3 separate regions of the Homo sapiens genome follow, and all the other regions are linked to region 1. The links are contacts of gene promoters, found by promoter capture Hi-C in blood cells and fetal thymus (Javierre and others, 2016). All regions are on one chromosome and are shown on one strand. Each heading gives the region's core, a stretch centred on a gene start or on the middle of the fragment in contact. The rest is flanking DNA. Distances are from core to core; before and after follow the strand shown.

What was found. Contacts are between HindIII fragments. The CHiCAGO score rates a contact against its expected background, and 5 or more counts as called.
Region 2: a fragment that was not itself captured here is called in contact with the fragment with the promoter of IQCB1 in region 1 in 1 of 17 cell types (activated CD4 T cells); the score reaches 5.1 in activated CD4 T cells.
Region 3: the fragment with the promoter of PARP15 here is called in contact with the fragment with the promoter of IQCB1 in region 1 in 1 of 17 cell types (non-activated CD4 T cells); the score reaches 5.0 in non-activated CD4 T cells.

The regions. Positions count from the first base shown.
Region 1 is chr3:121,833,182-121,837,710 of GRCh38, forward strand. It overlaps IQCB1 (IQ motif containing B1), which reads right to left and starts at 1,879. Exons shown (of 15, transcript NM_001023570.4): 1 at 1,785-1,879; 2 at 1,210-1,298. EAF2 (ELL associated factor 2) reads left to right here and starts at 2,028. Exons shown (of 6, transcript NM_018456.6): 1 at 2,028-2,210. The coding sequence starts at 2,105. The HindIII fragment of the contact is 9,498 bases long and covers 1-4,529 here.
Region 2 is chr3:122,688,236-122,692,764 of GRCh38, forward strand. PARP14 (poly(ADP-ribose) polymerase family member 14) reads left to right here. Exons shown (of 17, transcript NM_017554.3): 4 at 4,066-4,308. Among named protein-coding and RNA genes, the nearest start is that of PARP14, 9.7 kb to the left of the region's middle. The HindIII fragment of the contact is 2,756 bases long and covers 732-3,487 here.
Region 3 is chr3:122,575,681-122,580,209 of GRCh38, forward strand. It overlaps PARP15 (poly(ADP-ribose) polymerase family member 15), which reads left to right and starts at 1,970. Exons shown (of 12, transcript NM_001113523.3): 1 at 1,970-2,173. The coding sequence starts at 1,988. RefSeq lists enhancers at 353-402, 1,937-2,216 and a silencer at 2,277-2,326. The HindIII fragment of the contact is 6,929 bases long and covers 1-4,529 here.

The sequences.
Region 1 (4,529 bases), core at 629-3,128:
AAATGGTTATTATTAAAGCCCAGTTCTACCATCATACTACATTTTAAGACCATCTTTGCTGGCTGCCTTCTTATATCTTTGGTTCACAACTGTATTCCCAGTGGCTAGACTAGTACCTGGCACGTACTAGGATTTGCTAAATACAGGTTGAAAGTATGAGTAAATGCACAAACCTCAGGCATTCTGAGCCTCAATTTCTTGACTTTCTGTTTTTCTCTTGTTACAATAGAGAAAGCTCAGATTTATAGTTGGAAGCCTCTCTAACGTAAAATAGGCTCAAAACAGTTTGTGCCCTCCTGGCTACCGTAATAAAACATCACTAAATCATTATTGTCATCAACAAATATGTGCAGAGCAGTATGGTAGATGCAGGGGATGCAAAGATTCTACACAAGACATACTCTCTGCTATTGTTCTGGTTGGGAAAGAAAAGTATGTTTATGTACATGTGTACACACACACAGATACAAAAAAATATACTTAAGAATATCAGATATATGTTAAATGCTAAATAGATGACACAGATAAGAATACAGGCCATAAAGTCAGAGGACTGGGCTTCTCTGAACCATTTTTCTTGCTGTAAACAAAATAGCAATTCCTACCTCCTAGAATGATTCTATTTAGAAGAGAAGGCAGCCACCAAGATGGTCTTAAAATGTAGTATAAGTGTAGAGCTGGGCCTTAAATAACCATTTGGAGACCTCTTATCATGCTCCAGGAATTGTTCTAATTGCTTTCATGTATTAACTCATTTAATCATTCCAACAACTCTAAGGAACAGATACTATTATTTTTTTCCCAATTTGAACAATGAGCATACTTAAACTCTGGAGAATGTAATTAGCTGGCACAAAGTCACACTGTTAAGTATAAAGCAGGGGTTCAAACTAGAGCCACCATCTGCCTTAAAGCATTTAACTACGATATGAAACAGCTTCGGCACACCTTCAAAGGGTAGGATTTACACAGACAGGTTGAAGGAGACATAACCACCTACCCCAAAATCAATTGACAAATGTGCCTAAGGCAGAAGGTGAGGGAGTGCAGTTGGATTGCGTAATTACCCTGAAAAACCACCTGTTATGGAAACCATCTGTAAACTTTCTCGAGTGTTTCTCCTATAATTCAACACTTCTCCCATCTTTACATTAAATTCATGAAATTTGACACAAAAAGACAATTATTTATCTATTTTAAGGCTACTACCCTGTTGCCAGGCCACCGGGTCCGGCCCAGCCTTGATTCTTCGGGAATCACTTCTCCCTCGCCGCGCCTGTTACTGCCTCCACGGATCACTGTGAGGAAAATAAATGAAAAGGAAATTCAGTGCGATCCTGTTGCGGCTGATCCTAAATGTCTGCAGTTGCTATCTCCGAATCCTCTTTCTCCTCCCCACTACACATCCCCTTCTCCAGTCCTAGGACCACAAGAAACTTCCTCTGGTACAAAAAGGTCAGAAAACGATTACTGAGGTAACAGCGTCGCTTCAAGTCTAAGGACCGAGATTCTGGGGCCTCTGGGCTCCTTTACTCCAGATTCTAGACCCGGCTTTCGCGCTACCAGGCCTTGGATAAGACACTAGGCCCTGTGCCTGGACACTGCACCTCCCCAGGCCTCAGTTTCCACACCAGATCTCTACAGAGTGGGCGTGAGGGCAGGCCGATTCTCCCGTTAAGAGCTCTTACAAGCCGGCTGACTTCGTCCAGGAGCCTGGGGTCCTGGCCTCCTGGTAGGCGCCCTGGGGCCCTCTCCCTCCCCAGCCACCACCTCAGATAAGTTACCTCATCCTCGCTTCGCGTTCTTCCACTAAAGAACCTGGGGCTCCCACGCCGCACTACAGCGCCGCGGCCTTCCGGGGCAGCGTGCGTCGCGACGCGGGAAGGGGCCTGGAGGCGGGACTAGGAGCCTCGGAGTCAAGGGGCGGAGCGCCCTTTGCTAATAAGCCAATCAGAACGTGAGACGCTCCGGTGGGGCGGTGCGCGTCGAGCGCGGGGTGGAGTCTGGGTGACTTGGCTGGCGGGATCAAGTGCAGCTGCTTCAGGCTGAGGTGGCAGATAGTGAGCGCTGGTGGCGGAGTTAAAGTCAAAGCAGGAGAGTAATTATGAATAGCGCAGCGGGATTCTCACACCTAGACCGTCGCGAGCGGGTTCTCAAGTTAGGGGAGAGTTTCGAGAAGCAGCCGCGCTGCGCCTTCCACACTGTGCGCTGTGAGTGAGGACCATCCGGGGATAGAGGGGGAGCCTCCCGGGATGGGGGTGAAGAGGCACAAACCCCTCTGGGTTTTGTTCCCACAGTACCCCTTACACTGTTGGAGACTACGGGGCGGGGAGGGGGGAGGCAGCGCGATCCTCTAACCTGCTCGGAGTCTTAGGGGGTCGGTGGAAGGAATCGGAGTAGAGCAAATGTGGGTAAACCCTGGACAGAGAGCGTTGAGACCAGCAGACAGGAAGGGAAAGTGTGAAAAAAGTCTGTAGAGGTGACTGTGGAGACAGACGTGACAGGTGGATGATGCAGGGGTGGACAGGAAAATAATAAGGTGACAAATGGGAAGGGACTAAGGACCGAATGCCGGGGAACTTGAATGCCTTGAGGCTGGTGGGGCAATATTCTCTCTTTTCATCACTTTTTCTCACCTCTGGCAGATGAGGGTTCTTATTTGGTGTGTTCTTTGCAAAGGGAGAAATTCTCAACCATCCCAATGATCTGTATATCTCTTTGGACCCCAGATTTCACTCAGTTATCAAATACTGATTATCAAAGTATTCGAGGGTGTGTTATTAATTTCTTTATTTGGAAGATGCTTACCTCCCTATGATTTCTACCCTTTGGTTTTCTTTATGTCCTCTGGAACTAGTTTTAATAAATTATTCTCTTTTATGTTGTTGGAGTAGAAAAAGGAGCTCTTTTGCTTTAGCAGTTGGATGATATAGATTCCAGGAAGGAAAATATAGCATATAAGTTTTTATGTGTAAGACATTCGTTTTTTGCATAACAACTGTCATAGAATTGTAGAGCGGGAAGGAAACTTCAAGATCACTGAATTATAACTTCTCATTTTTCTGTGGTAAAACTGTAAGTATTTTTTCACTTCCTTTCCCCAGCCTTGCCCTTCCTTAATATCTCATCATTCCGCCTTTCTCAGTCATTCTGTTCTCGGGTTGTTTAGAGACCTTTATGGTTTTTACTCTGAAATGTTCCATGGTTCAATCAAAACAACTAATTAAAGCATACATTCTCCCAAAAGTTTATTTAAGTTGTAGACAATTTAGTTATAGTTACTCAAAGTAAAGGTATGAAGAACCACTGGTTTTAACCCTGCAAGAATATATTTACTAAAAGGGTTTTTTTAAAGCAAAATTAACATCCAATTGGTAGAATAAATGGGTGAGATATTTGTGAACAGAAACTCTTCAACAGTGTCCCTTGTTTATTCTTCTTTATCATATACTTTCTCATCCAGAGCTCCCCACGATGAGATGGTGCTGTGCTGGCTCTGCAGTTTCTCTCTCTTCAGTCCCATTTTCCGGAAGTGTGATATGCGTCTTTATCTGGTTTTTCCATGCCTTTTTCTCAAATAGTATCTACTCTCTCCTTTTCTCTTCCTTCTCAGGTATGCAATAGTCTTAATATTAATTTTTCAAGTTACAAGGGCTTAAGATTATAAAAATTTGCTTAAGAATATATTTCTATATGATTTGGGTATATATTCTCTTATGTAGGGCACAAATCCCAATTTAAATGAATAAAAAATTGCCTTTGAAAATAATCTTGCAGGTCCTTCACAGCCTTTCATTTATAAAGGTTCTGAAAATGCCAGTATCTTGAAAGTCAGAGGATCAGATGATCCAGCTACCAGAATGAAAATAAACAAAAATAAGCAAAACAACAATAATGACAATAATAAATAAACAAACATACATGTTTGAATACACACTTAGTCCTGTGGAAGACAGAACTATTAGAAAAGTTTTCAGTCCTTATTTTCTTTTATTGTTGTTGTTGAAGCAGGTGTGGTAATGGCACAGAATCATTTTAGATTTATTTAAATAAAACTGTTTATTATTCTTGAGGACAGGTTCATTTCCAATGTAATCCTCACTCTTAAGAACTCAGAGTGAGGTTTGAAAATTGTAGAATAGTATGAAGCTGATGTTCATGCAGATAAGGGGGACCTAATTTATAACCAACCCTCAAGCCAATGTCATTGGAGAGAAAGTAATATTCTGCCTTTATTTACAGGAGCAATTCTGCCTGTCTGATATAAGACTTCAGGCAAACCCGGATGTGAATCCTGGTCTCCACCACCTATATATATAATGTGACTTTGGGAACATTCTCTAAGCTCTCAACCTCAGTTTTCTTATGGCTAAAAGATAATAGTAATATTTACATTTCATGGTTTGTGTAAGGATTAAATAAGATAGCATAAACAACCTGGAACAATATTTGCCACAGGGTAGAGAATAAATAGTAGTCACCATTAATGTTGAAGAGTTATATTCATATGTGTACGAGGGGTGCTAATG
Region 2 (4,529 bases), core at 860-3,359, 860 kb after region 1:
TTCAGACTAGGAAGTGGTTTTATATGTGCATATTTATTCTTGCTCTATAGCCCTAGATCTAAAATTTAATCACATCTGTGTTTCTTATGACTTCATAGATTTTTACCTTAACTCTGTCTTAACTGACATGTTAGTACTGTTTTAAATTTGCTTAAAACTCCCAAATGTATTCCCAGCGAAAGCCCCAGTCCCCTTCCACCAATAGACTTTTCATTGTCCTGGGAATTTTAGGCCCATTTTCTAACCTGTTTTTACCCGACCTGGACTCTAAGGATAGTAGCCAGCTAGGAATTTGGGTTGTCTACACCAGATACTTAAGTTGGCTCCTTTAAAGGAAGCAGAGGTTCTTTGCTGAATGGTTACCCCACACTGATCCCTGACTATGGCCCTAAGGCTGGGACTCTTGAAATTAATTGGAATGGGGTAGACAGTTTCAGAACTGAGCAAAGTGTGGGTGGAGAATAGGTACTGACTGGATTCTGTTTCTCAGGGATGGGGAACGTACTCTCCGGACAATGAACCACAACCAACGCCACCAACCAATACTCATAATTAATAATTACAACAGCCCTGGTGCAGAAGACATTGCACCATGAATGCACTAAGCATGCCCGAAACCTCATGCAAAAAGTTTAAAACTGAGGCGTCTGCAGGAGCTGACAGGGCAGGGAAAGGCACACACACCAAGATCAGGTGAAGTCAGCACTGAGCTAATGTCCTGTTCCAGGATAAGCTTAGTTGGGCTGGGTCTGAAAGGTGGAAACCAGCACTTGGAAGGTCCTGGAGAAGAGACAAGGGCAAGAGCAGAGAAATACTGCTTACCTGTGGTCGGAAATTCTGGTGTTTTCAAATCCATATCCCCAGCCTGGACTCCTCTCTCAATTCCAGAACTTCTGTCTGACCTTCCTGTTGGGAAGTATATTAGAGCCAACATGCCTGAAGCCACATGTGTCATCTTCCTCCCCAAGCAAGGGCCCTTTCTGGCTTCCTCATTTCTCTTGAAGTACACAATCAGTCTGCTCGTCACCTACTAGACATTTCACGCATCACTCCTTTCACATCTGCTGATCATAGAGACCTATTTATTTTATTTTATTGTTTTTGGAGAGAGGGTTTCATTCTGTTGCTCAGGCTGTCTTGGCTCACTGCAGCCTCGACCTCCCTGGCTCAAGCAATCCTCCCACAGCAGCCTCCTAAGTAGCTGGGGCTATTATAACATGCATTACCATGCCCAGCCAATTTTTAACATTTTTTGTGGAGTCGTGGTCTCACTATGTTACCCAGGCTGGTCTTGAACTCCTGGCCCCAAATGACCCTCCCGCCTTGGCCTCCCAGAGTGCTGAGATTACAGGCATGAGCCACTGCACCCAGCCTCATTTTCTTTTAAAGTTTTCCTTATCCATCCTTCTCTCACCACGGGCCCTTCCTTTTTACCTCACAAGTTCAACATGGCAGGAGCTCCCTGCCTGCTCTGTCTGTGTCTGCCACCCTTCTCCTTAAACCTGACCAGCCCTTTGCACTATTGCTAAATAGCCTGCCATCCTTTTCATGGAAACCTTCCATGACTCACCCTTACCACAAGCTGGGAGATAAAGTCCAGACCACCTTCTGGATCTAGTCTGCTTTTCTGGCCTCATTTTCTTCATTCTGCACAATTGTGCGCCTTTTGAGCCACATCAGTCAAATCACTGTTTTCTAAATTGTCTGATGCAGTTGCAGCACTCTGCCTGTGCTTCTGTTGCTCACCATTCCCTCTAGCCCACTTTTCTCTACCCAATTCCACATACCCTTCAAGACCTGCTGAACTTCCTCCTCTTCTCTCAAGTCTTTCCATGCCAGCCCAGCCCTTTTATCTCTTTCTGGGACTCTTGGCCTGATTGTTAATGCTCTTTTTTGGTCAATTAAGCCTTTCTTGTGGTGAAGCGTCTAATATTGATGGGATTATAAAACTATATTGCTGGAAAGATTCTTTCAGTCCAGTTCACTTAGTCCTATACCCTCATTTTATGATTAAGAGACATGCCCAAGGTCACATGGCTAAAGAGTGGCAGCAGGGATTAAACACATATAGCCTCCTCCCTAGCCCAGCAGTCATTGTGATTTGTCATACCTGTCTCACTTAGTGCTAATTTATGTAGTTGCTTTATGCTTAAGCTATTTTTTTTTTAATTTAGCATGAGTGTGTGTGCATGGCATGATAGCCAGCACACAACAGAGTGGTCTAACTGTTGTAACAAACAACCTCCCAAATCAGTAACCTAACACAACACAAGTTTGTTTGTTTATTTATTCATTTATTTTTCTGAGACGGAATCGCCCAGACTGGAGTGCAGTGGTACAATCTCGGCTCACTGCAACCTCCGCCTCCCAGCTTCAAGCGATTCTCCAGCCTCAGCCTCCTGAGTAGCTGGGATTAGAGGCGTGTGTTACCACACTCGGCTAATTTTTGTATTTTTGGTAGAGACAGGGTTTCATCACATTGGCCAGGCTAGTCTGGAACTCCTGATGTCAAGTGATCCGCCTGCCTCGTTCTCCCAAAGTGCTGGGATTACAGGCATGAGCCACTGCGCCTGGCCACAACACAAGTTTATTTCTCCTTCGCATCACAGTTCAGTGTAGTTGGCAGCTGTGATGGTGGTGGGAGTGTCAGTCACTTCATGTGGTCATTCAGGGACCCAGGCTCCTTCCACCCTTTGACACCATTATCTTTAAATGTGGTTTCCAAGGTCACTGCAAGGGAGAATGGGGTTTCATATTAAGGATATTTATATTGGCCAGGCCTGAAGGTGGAATTCACTTCCACCCATATTCCATTAACTGCAGGGACACTACTGTTGAAACTGAACTGCAGAAAACTTGAGAAATATTGTCCAGGAAGTAAGCAAAATGGATTTGGTGCACACAGAGCATTTTATGTGGCCACTGCGAACATTTACACATGTCATTTTCCTCATATACCTCCATTAGAAAATCTGTAAATTTCTTAACTAATGTTTTTTTATATTCTTACTTCTCCTTACATCCAGGGTCTTGAACACGATAAGAGTCCCCATTGAAAAACTGTCCACAGAATGCCTAAAGATCAGATCGTACCCACCATGCTTCAGTGGACAAGCATACAGTGAGACTGACCTTGTGTGTATGTGTAACTCATTTTTACAGTCAACAGTGGAGAGGAATGAGTCAGCTGGGTGATTGCCATTCAGCGGGCTTCGTATACAGCAGGCCTTGGCCATTTCACTTTCTGTGTGTATTCCTTAATCATTTGCTATAGGGATCCTTTTTTCTTTTCAGTGATGGGAACTTAACTATTTTTTGGAGTATAATGTGTTAGGTGATACCCATGTTTGGGCATCATCAGATAGTCTTGCTTTCCTCCAGTGACCCAAGCAGTAAATCTCCAATTCAGCAAACATTTACTGAGCCTCAATTATATACCATATGCTAGCAATACAAGGATGAATAAACATGTGTCTCGCTTTTGAGAAGCTTTGTTGAATAATTTTAGTCTGGTGCTGTGCTAGAAATAGATATCAAGTGCTAGGAAATATAAGGCAGGTTCCTCAAAAAGGCCAGGCAGAAAAGGGTATAATAAAATTAAACTTCAATTATGTATAATTTTAATATAAAATTCACATATAAAAATAGTCCTATAATGTAAATTGTTCTATAAATGACTATTTACTTAGCTAAGTAATGTGAATATTTTTTCTTATCACTAATAATTTTGGACAAATTTTTAAAATTCATTTCCACAGAGGTTAATATATGTACCCACCAGCAATAAATGAAAATCTTTTTATCCCTATAATGCCTATAATCTTGAAAATACAGACCTATTTTGTCAAAATGAAAATTTAAAAATATGAATTTTAATAATAGGCAATTACATGTTACATGTTGTTTTTATTTAAATAAAGCAAAAAGCCATCCAAGGTCTGTTATTCTGTGAGTTAGCCAAGAGATTGGCAAGGAGAGAGGGCAGTGCCTTGTGATAACTTACTTTGCTAAGACCATGGTAGATAAGTATAACATCTTGTACCTCTTTTGTCTTCCTAAAATCAGATGTGTCAGAAGAATTGGATACAAAACTCCCTCTTGATGGTGGATTAGACAAAATGGAAGATATCCCAGAGGAATGTGAAAATATTTCCTCTTTGGTGGCATTTGAAAACCTCAAGGCAAATGTGACTGACATAATGCTAATCTTGTTAGTGGAGAACATAAGTGGCCTGTCTAATGATGACTTTCAAGTGGAAATAATAAGAGATTTTGATGTTGCTGTTGTTACCTTTCAAAAGCACATAGGTAAGATGAAGTGACACTTCCTCTGCCTGTCTTCTTTGTACCACATCATGAGACTTGAGATACCTCTTAGGGGGACATCTCTGAAAGTTTGACTCTTTCTAGTAGCTACTAAGAGAGGTTTCCAAGTTAATATAGTTTTTTTTATTTTGAAAGTGAAGCATATTCATATTGAAACCAAATTCCATATTTTTAGTAGAATTAACTTTATTGCAGGAGTGCCC
Region 3 (4,529 bases), core at 720-3,219, 740 kb after region 1:
CAAAGTAATCATTAGGAGAAAAATAAGATCTTTATTGGACTTCCTTACACTTACCGTAATAGTTTAGTGTTTACAAAAATTATCCAGGCATGGTGGTACACATCTGTAATCCCAGCTATTCCGGAGGCTGAGGCATGAGAATTGCTTGAACCCAGGAGGCAGAGGTTGCAGTAGGCTGGGATCAGGCCACTGCACTCCAGCCTGGGCAACAGAGCGAGACTCTGTCTCAAAAAAAAAAAAAAATGTTTAGTACTGTTTTTGGTTTGATTTCCATACAGAAGTTAGGTGCTATTTCCTTTTTTATCGATTGGGTCATTTTTATTGATCAGATCTAAAACATAGAGCTTGATGCAAAGATTAAGATATTAATAATTTTGGAGGTCCAAGCCCAAGGACAAACAAAAAGAGAAGTGAGGCAAAGTAAGATGTAATGTAACGCGGTGCTAGGGGTTATCACCCTGGTTACTGCTTCACAATGAACCTGATGTTGCTGGTCTGGGAATTACATTTAGAGATCCACTGGCCTAGAAAATAGAGTTTAAACTCAGCAGCATGGCCGTTAGCGATTGCTCATGCCACTTTGCATACTTTGTGCTCCTTCCTCACCACCAAGTCCCTAGGGTTCAGTCACACCAGACTACAAGATTTTCCAAAGCACAGTCTATGCTTTCATTCATGTGATCTTTGTTCTGTGTAATCCACCCCCATCGCTGCTCTCTGCATGACAGATGATGAAAAAGGGAACTCTGAAGAGAGAGAGGGAGAGAGAGACACACCTCATTCTCATTCTTCACCTGATTTTCCTCTTAGAAAGTCCCCTACTCATCATGCAAGGTCTTACTGAAATGCCACTACTATAGAAACTTTTCTCCAATCTTGTCTCTAAATTACAACGAACCACTGATTTCTGTTATCCTAATACTTTATATGTATCTCAATGCAAATACGATACCAAAACCTTTTACCCTGCTCTCTGCCTTGGAGGTGGTACTGAGGGCTGACCTCTAAGTACCACATCAGCTCCATTCTCTGATTACTCATTGGGTTCTGCAGTGGGAGGTACCAGCACGAGATTGGAAGGCACACGGAGAGAGTACTTGGGATGCTTATACTCCCCTGGCTGTCTTCCGAAAGCAGTCATGGGTTCTACCTGCTGGCACTTGGTATAGCTCTTACCAAGTTCAGGAGATGCCCCCTCCCTTGCCCCTTCAGCCTAGATGGTAAGGGGAGGAGGCTACTTCACCATCTCTCAATGGTTTCCTTAACCCTTTGCCCACACCTGTGTAAATAATTTCTTTATTAAATTATCTTCAATTATTAATTTTGAGTATACCATCTGTATACTGCCAGGACTTTTCGTGATACACCAGGTAACAGTATTAATCTATGTTTTATTTCTCCACCTCCTACTTCACCCCTCACTCCAAAGAGAGGGGATCTGTGTCTAATTCATCTTTATAATCTTAACACAGTGCCAGGCATATCAAAGGCCTTCAATACGCGTTGATTGAATTAAATAATGCCCTGTTGGGCCAGAGGGGAACCTGACTCCAGCCCTGGCTTAGGGAGCACAGGAGAGAACCCAGTGTATTTTTCTAAATATGGGTGTGTAGGGAGAATTGGGGGGAAAGGAGTGGGATGCCCAACAGAAAAGGAAAGGAATACTGATTCCTGTGTTTTAATGTGCCAGGCATTCTACAGACTTTATCTCATTTAATCTTCATTATAATAACATGAAATAGTTATGGCTGTGCCCACTGTACAGATGCTATTGACTGAGGCTACATAACTAATAAAATTGCAGACCTCAGGATTTTGACCCAGGATTTGTCTGGCAGTAACGTCTGTCCCAAAGGGCGACACAATCCTGAGGCAGCTGTTCGCAAACTCGAGGCCTCAATCTTTGACGGAAGCGGTTTTCAGAGAAAAGAAGTTCGAGGCACAAGCCTGTTGGGTGGGGCGCAACTGCAGTCCCAGCGAGCTGAGGATGGCTGCGCCAGGCCCCCTTCCTGCCGCTGCTCTGAGTCCAGGGGCTCCGACCCCCAGAGAACTTATGCACGGAGTTGCAGGTGTTACTTCCAGAGCCGGACGAGATCGGGAGGCGGGGAGCGTGCTGCCGGCCGGGAACCGTGGGGCGCGGAAGGCCTCCCGGCGCTCTTCCTCCCGGAGTATGGTGAGGAGCGCGGGGGACGGGTGCGGGAAGGGGACAGCAGGGCTGAGCCTGGGGCCCGCAAGACCCAGCAGCCCGAGCGGGCGCAGAGACCCCACGCCACGCACAACCCTCTCTTCTAGGGGGCGCCGACTACACTGACTTCCCTGTTCCGGAAGAGGGGGATGCGTGCTGCTTCTTTTTCCTTAGCATTTCTGGTGGTTTTTTTTTTTTTTCCCTTAAAATTTAAAAGTTCTTTATAAAGTTTGAAAGGATATGAGTCCTTTATTCGTGATATGTGTTATGAATATGTCCTCCCAATTTATTTTTTGTTTTTTGAGTTTGCTTATGGGGGGCTTTTGTTTCTCTTTGCCATGCAAATATTTTAAATTTTGTGTGGCAAGACTTACCAGTCTTTTATTTTATGACGTCTAGACTTTTAGTCATATTTTAATATATGACTTTTAGTCATACTCTTCCCTACACCCAAGTTATAGAAGAGTTCACTCATGCTTGCTTCTAGTACTTGAACTGATGTATTTTTTACATTTAGATCTATAATACATTTGGAGTGTGTTATTGTGTGTGGTTTGAGGAGTGAATCTAATTATTTTTTTTCAAATGGGTATCAAGTGTCCCAACACCATTTATTATAAAGGTCGTCACTGTCCCAGTAACTTGAGATACCAGCTTTATCATGTACTAGACTTTCATATGTGGTTCGGGTATTTCTGGACCTTCTATTTTCATCCATTGACCCGTTTATTCATCTGCTTTAGAGAGGCTTTGCTGTATGTTTTAATGTCAGGGCTAGTCTTCCTAGAGAGTGCTTCCTTGTCACTATTTTCCTAGCTATTCTTGTTGTTTATTTTTCCTTATGAACTTTTCTGATGTATGATCAGTTTAAAAAAAAAAAAGAAAAGCTCTTTGGAATTTTTATTGGGATTGCATTAAATTAATAAATTACAGAGAGCTGATATCTTTAGGTGGTGTTGACATGGTCTAACCTACTGTGCTGTGAAAGATTGAAAATTTGAGTATGTAATGTATATGATATTAAATTGTGAATTGGTGGGACATATGTAACAGCTTTTCAACAATTGTAGATACTGGTACTTCATATCCTCTTAAGGAAAATTTGCCTCCAAATTTTAAGCTGGAAAGTCACTAGAATAACTTTTAAAAACAATTACAATACATGACTTTTTAAACTTTTTTGTGTGTGTATGTTAAGAATAGTGTACAAATTGAAATATCTGTGTACTGATCCTCGACACAACCAATGAAATCTCCATTATGAAGGAATGTTTTGAAGCACATAGAAAAGGAAGCGAAACAAAGGATGCCTTTTCATTGTTTAAGTCTATTTTTGTGTCTTTAAAGAAGGTTTATAGTTATCTTCACATAAAACATTTCAATTTTTCTTTTTTCTCAATATTATATATGAGGTTTACTCATTCGCTATGTTGTCTATTTACGTGTATGTATGCTTTGATGTTTTCTTTCATTTTAAAAATTAAGGTGTAATTTACAGACAGCTTTTCTATATTTAGAAAATTCATACTTTTTAGTGTATACTTCTGTGAGTTTTGACAAATGTTTACCAGTATAATGAAGATATAAAAGAGTTTTCTACCAGTTTCTTTGTCTTCAACCTCTTCACTCAAGATGAGCTCCTGGCAACCACTAGGGTCATCTTTTGGTCCCTGTAGTTCCAGAACGTCATGTACATGAAATCATTCAGCAGAGAGTCTTTGGAGCCTTAGGTATCACTAATTTGCTACTGCTTTCTATTAATAGTTAAATTTCATTGTGGTCAGAAAACATATTTTTCATTATTTGAATTCTTTAAAATCTATGTATTGAGGGCCGGTCGCGGTGGCTCACGCCTGTAATCCCAGCACTTTGGGAGGCCAAGGTAGGTGGATCACTTGAGGTCAGGAGTTCAAGATCAGCCTGGCGAACATGGTGAAACCTCGTCTCTACTAAAAATACAAAAATTAGCCAGGCATGGTGGCACACACCTGTAGTCCCAGCTACTCAAGAGGCTGAGGTAGGAGAATTGCTGGAACCTGGGAGGCAGAGGTTGCAGTGAGCTGAGATTGCGCCACTGCACTCCAGCCTGGGTGACAGAGCAAGACTCTGTCTGAACAACAACAGCAACTATATGTATATATATATATATATATATATATATATATATATATGCACGCGCGCACACACACACACAGAGACATTTGTCTTATGGACACAATATGATCTATCTTGGTAAATTTCCAAGCACACTTGAAAACAAAGTACATTCTCTCATTGGATAGAGTGTTCTATAAATGTCAATTAGGTGGAGTTGGTTGTTGTTCAAGTCCTCATGTCCTTACTG